Linked DNA regions of Homo sapiens: region 2 is linked to region 1. The links are contacts of gene promoters, found by promoter capture Hi-C in blood cells and fetal thymus (Javierre and others, 2016). All regions are on one chromosome and are shown on one strand. The core of a region is centred on a gene start or on the middle of the fragment in contact, and the rest is flanking DNA. Distances in the headings are between cores, read along the strand shown. Region 1 holds the start of OXSM (3-oxoacyl-ACP synthase, mitochondrial). Region 2 holds the start of OXSR1 (oxidative stress responsive kinase 1).

Region 1 (2,773 bases), core at 234-2,733:
CAGAATCTTAGGGACAAAAAATGGGCTAACTTTATTGTAACCTTTTGTCTGAAAATTCAAAGCAGTTTCAGAAACAACTTCAAGAGGAATCATTCCCATGCCAATTGCAACACCAGTAGCCACTTGATCAGCTTCTGACTGAGGATGCCAGCCAGAATCCTTCATGGCTAATTCTGCAGCCCCAATGGCCATGATGGTGGGAGAAGACATGGACTTGATATCTGATTTGGACACAAAGTTTTGTTCATTGAACTGACCTTCATCACTACCTCTTGGCACATAAGCAGCAACACTGCAAGGGATACTCTTATACTCTTCACCAACCAGTGAAACAATTCCACTCTCTCCTCCGATAAGACGATCCCAAACCAGGTGAGTTCCAACACCAAGAGGAGTCACTAAGCCAATGCCTGTAATGACAACTCGCCTATGCAATCTGGATATTGGCACAGTTCCGAAAAACTTCCTTTTACTTCTTAACTGTTGGCATAATCTTGAACATAGAAGACGAGTGCTTGTAATTTTCAGGAAATTTTGCAGGCAGTTGGACATGATTAAGATTCAGATGATCAGAAACACATTCCTGTAAAAGACCACAACACACCTAGGAGGTATTCTTTTAAATAGCTTAAGGGCCTAAGGAAAAACATCCAAGGTGTTCCTTTGGGTGCTTGATATGAGCTGCTAATGAACACAGGGAAAATGTTACATACTTTCAATTTATACCTTAACATCAAACTATCTGTTTAAACTTACCTTCTTTTTTAGACCTTAAGTGCCGTCAGACATTTGAAGACAAATAAATGAATTGATGATTCATTCGAGTCACCAAAACAGTAATTCAATGAAAAATATAAAGGCACCTCCAGCCTGATTTGAGCTGCAGGAAGCATCCTTTGTCAGGATTACTGATAACTTCTTCTAAATAGCATTTCTGGTGTCAGTGGCACAGAAAACACATTTCAGGGCATATTCTTTTAAGTAAGTAAGTGGGCTTTATCAATCTTCAGTACTTAAGGATAACCAGCCTTTTCAAAACGCTACCCAGGGCCAAGAGCCCTAGACTGAGCGTCTGGATACATGGGTTGGCAATACACTCTGTGACCAAGCTTGCGATGGGGGAAGGGGACAAGTCTTTCCACTCCTCTAAACTTCTCCAATTGAATCATTGGTGGAAGGAGGGGTTACGACTAGTGGATCACTTCAAGGGTACTACGAAGGCCAGGGGCGGGAGTAAAAGAGTGTAGCCATTCCCTGTATCGCCTCTCAGGCACCACCACACATGTACACAGCCCGAAGAAGCATGGCGAGAGAAAAAGAAATCAGGCCCCAGGTCCTCGGACTCCCCTCTCGAAATTCAACCCCGACTTGATTTGAATGTAAAGGAGGAAAGGAGGGGCGAAGGAGGAGGGTAGCCAGCGATACCTGTAACGGGGCTACCCCGGACACTTCTCCACAGTCGGGGGCGATGACGCTCTCGAGCGCACGCGCACACGCACGTACGCTCATGCGCGCTCGCACGTACGCTCATGCGCTTTCCCACGCACGCGTCCCGTTCGACTCTCTTTCCGCCGGTTGACTTTAAGCCGCGTCACCTTGGCTGAGGTCAGACCGTGGGAGGCGGCTGGGTAGCTGTTTGCGTGAGCAGAGACGCCCCTCTCGGAACCTCAGTGACTCGCCGATAATCGAGGACCTGCCAATAACGCGATGAGGTAGCATTTTCACCCATCAAAAAGGCATTTTTCTTTGGCAGTGATAATGCCCAAATATTCCCTTTTGTCGGAGAAGGGACACCATCGTATTCTACTGGAATTGTAAGAAAGAATTAAGGAAATTCTCTGCAGTTTCAAAGTTATTGCTATAGCTCGCAACGTTATTAGTAATTGTGAGTAAAGTGGAATTAACCAAAATGGCCAACATCAGGAAATTTGTTGTGTATCTTGTGGTACATCCAAATGCCATGCAGCCGTTTAAAATAATTCTGCAGGTGAATATTTATTAATGAGATGTTGCGACTATTTGTTAGGAGACATAGTTACAAAACAGTATATATCCGTTTTTTCAAAAATAATTCTTTAAAGGTCTGCAAGATGTATACTGATTGTGATCTTTCCCTCCTTATTTTTGCTTAGCTTTATTTAATAAAGCTTTTCTACAATAAACAAATGTTTTTGTAATAAAGTTTTTACTTTTTAAAAGTTGTCACCAGGCTGTTCTGCCTATGGAGTAGTCATTCTTTGTTCCTTTACTTTCCTAATAAACTTCCTTTCACTTAAAAAAAAATTATCACCAGATTTGAGACAGTGCTCAAAAATTGTCTCCATTGTCACAATGGAGACATTTGTTTCTAAGTGTGAAAAATTCATTAACTGTTTGCTTAGAGCTGACTGCAAACCGATAAAGGGAAAATATAACATGAAAATGTAAAAAAGCAAGAAGTCGACAAGATGGTATTCATCGAACATCTGTTTTTCACATGCTATCCCAGGCGTGAGTTTTGTCCTTGCTCTTCTTTAGAAAAATGGTTGAGCATAGAATCTTCATCTGGACCTTCTAGTCATATTTATGGTTTTTTCTGGGCAATGCCTCTTGAAGCCATTGTTTCCAAGTAGAGTGCTCTGCATTCTTTCCTACCCCTACAGAAGAATGTGAGTCAAGCTTAGCTTTCCAGGTTGGTCCTGGATTTAAATGAGTTTGGAAATCTATTTTGTTTAAAATAATTCAGCAAAGCTCAGTTTGACCTTCGTCCCAGGCCTAACCAGTCACCTCTAGT
Region 2 (2,700 bases), core at 48-2,547, about 12 Mb before region 1:
TTGCCAAAGCCTCTTCAAATTTTTTTTTTTTTTTTTTTTTTTTTGAGTCAGAGTCAGGGTTTGTCGCCCAGGCTGGAGTGCAGTGGCGCGATCTCAGCTCACTGCAAGCTCCGCCTCCCGGGTTCAAGGATTCTTCTGCCTCAGCCTCCCGAGTAGCTGGGATTACAGGCGCGCACCACCACACCCAACTAATTTTTGTATTTTTAGTAGAGACGGGGTTTCACCATATTGGCCAGGCTGGTCTCGAACCCCCGACCTCGTGATCCGCCCGCCTCGGCCTCCCAAAGTGGTGGGATTACAGGCGTGAGCCACCACGCCCAGCCCTTCTTACTTCTTTTTGTCTTCTTATTTAATGTCTACCTCCCCGACTGGAAAGTCAGTTGGAAGGAGTCGTAAGTTGGGTCTCGGTTGCTCAGCGCGGTTCCTGCAGCTTCACCTGGAGGATCCCCAGTTCGCCCCAGCACGGATGGAGGAAAAACTTAAAGCTCCCTATCTATCCCACAATCCCAGAAATCGATGGCTGTGCCCACTTCAAGATCCCATTTCTCACACAGCCTCGGAAAGGCCTGTCCCACACCTGCACTTTCTTTCTCTACAAGACACATGGGCCGCTCCTGTCCACACATTTGAGAATCCTGTACACAAATCTCTCCTGAGCCCCCTCAAGCCTCACCCCACCCCACGCCACCTCACAGGCGCGCGCCTCAAAACCCCCTTCCCGTCTCACACGCGCTCCTCGACACAAGCGTCCTACAAGCCCCCAGCCCCACAAGCGCCCCACGAATTCCTATGAGGGCTGCGCTCCCCGAGCTCCCGCGGCTCCCCACGTTCCCGTGTCCCCCGCCTCCCAGCGCCGCGCCTCCCCCCTCCGCAGCGCCTGCTCTCACCGATCACCTCCTGCAGCTCGTAATCGTCCCTGTTGATGGACCAGGGCAGGGCGCTCGAGTCCTCGGACATGACGGCGGCAGCGGCTCGCGGTCCTCCCTCAAACTCGCTGACCTCGCTCGTCTCCTCGCCGCGCGTCTCCCCACCCCCAACAGCCGCCGCCGCCGCCGCCGCGCCCCCACCAATCGTCTCGGAACAGCCACGGGTCGGACGGCGCCGGGGCGCGGGGTCACCGCGCGGCAGAGCAGCGGGGGCTCAGAGCTCCGGCGGACCTCGCCTCCTGCTCCTCCGAGTCCGGCACTGCCCGGCCCAGCCCACGTCCTGTCCTCGGCCTCCGCAGCAGCAGCGACAGAAGCTTTGCCTGGGCCCAGCCCCTCTGTCCCGCCCTCCACCCCAGCCCCACGCACGGGCCAAACTTTCCCCTCTTCCTCCACCTGCCGACACGCAGCGCGCTGACGTCACTGCGCTGGTCACGCCCCACCTCGGGCCCGCCTCCGGCCGCCATCTCCAGTGTGGCTGGATGTAAAGTGAGCAAGCTAGAAACCCGAGAAGGTAGGAGTTCGCGGTGAAAGGGAAGAAGTGCTTAGGTAGAGGTTCATCGAAGGCATCGAAAAGCCGTAGGAGAGCCTCAAGTAGCACAGAGGCAGTAGCCACACTAAGCATGGCGACCAAAGGGCAGCAAAGTAGAAGGGGCAGAGCCACTTCTAGCGCCTGGGGCACGCTGCTGTCTCCGTCGTCGCATTCATTGGTTTGTTTGAGAAGGAATCAGAAAAGCAATGGGTGTGGGTAGACGTCAGTCATAAATTGGTCCCGCCTCCAGGCTCTTAGCGCGCTTCTCCGTGTTAGGGCTGCAGCCCTTCAAGAGCTCCGTTACCGCGCTCGTCTTACCACTTCCTCTGGAGTGACGTCACGGCGTAACCGTCACACCCTCGAGACGTGCGAAAGGCTCTACAGGGTGTGGAGAAACCCTGAGGGAGCGGCTGGGTGGGGTAGCCTTTGGGTGTGGACCACTGCCAACTAGGATAAAAGGCCTTGGGCCACTGGTCGGAGTGAAACTGGAAGTTTGCCTGGTGACATTTTTTTCAAGGCGGACGTTCTCTCTAACGCTTGTCGCGGCGCTGTCTCTCGCGGGTCCACCCTGCACTGGGCGGGTTCTGTCCATTCGCAGCTTTAGATCTGAAGCTCAAATAAGCACCTGCCTTGAGGGACTCGGGAGGTTGTCTTTCTTCCCCCCGGACAGGGCTTGGGGTATTAAACAAGTGAGATCGACCCACGGATTTGGGGGTTGTCTCACGGGCGTTGGCTTTTGTCGCCCCCACTGAACAGTTTTCTCAGTTTGACTACGTACGGCCGTTAGAGAAATTAGCGAGCTGAAGACTGAACACGCTTGGTAAATTGGATTTTAAAAAATAATGAGCATCCAACAGGGATAGGGCTAGGTGCGAAACTGTTCTAGGTTGGACACCTTTCAGTCCAACGGCAGTCTTTAAGGAAGAGACCTTAGGCCGGGTGCGGTGGCTCACGCCTGTAATCCCAACACTTTGGGAGGCGGAGGCGGGCGGACCACCTGAGGTCAGGAGTTCGAGACCATCCTGACCAACATGGTGAAACTCCCTCTCTACTAAAATACAGAAAAATCGCTGGGCGTGGTGGCTGGCGCCTGTAATCCCAGCTACTAGGGAGGCTGAAGCAGGAGGCGAAGGTTGCAGTGACCCGAGAGCATGCCACTGCACTCCAGTCTGGGCAACAGACGGAGACACCGTCTCAGAAAAAGGAAGAGACCTTCACCTAGGCCCAGCTGAGACGGAGCAGGGA

The links. Contacts are between HindIII fragments. The CHiCAGO score rates a contact against its expected background, and 5 or more counts as called.
Region 2: a contact is called between the fragment with the promoter of OXSR1 here and the fragment with the promoter of OXSM in region 1, in 3 of 17 cell types (activated CD4 T cells, total B cells and naive CD8 T cells). The highest score is 19.3, in activated CD4 T cells.

What each region holds. Positions count from the first base shown.
Region 1 is chr3:25,788,800-25,791,572 of GRCh38, reverse strand. It overlaps OXSM (3-oxoacyl-ACP synthase, mitochondrial), which reads right to left and starts at 1,483. Exons shown (of 3, transcript NM_017897.3): 1 at 1,426-1,483; 2 at 1-583. The coding sequence starts at 552. It also overlaps a transcript of NGLY1 not described here. RefSeq lists enhancers at 1,186-1,255, 1,266-1,335, 1,475-2,004 and a silencer at 1,438-1,657. The HindIII fragment of the contact is 1,038 bases long and covers 1,112-2,149 here.
Region 2 is chr3:38,164,134-38,166,833 of GRCh38, reverse strand. OXSR1 (oxidative stress responsive kinase 1) reads right to left here and starts at 1,297. Exons shown (of 18, transcript NM_005109.3): 1 at 888-1,297. The coding sequence starts at 957. It overlaps LOC101928234 (a long non-coding RNA gene), which reads left to right and starts at 1,358. Exons shown (of 5, transcript XR_940733.2): 1 at 1,358-1,437. RefSeq lists silencers at 803-852, 903-1,292 and enhancers at 524-1,139, 1,533-1,632, 1,903-2,032, 2,183-2,262, 1,423-2,622. The HindIII fragment of the contact is 1,868 bases long and covers 1,243-2,700 here.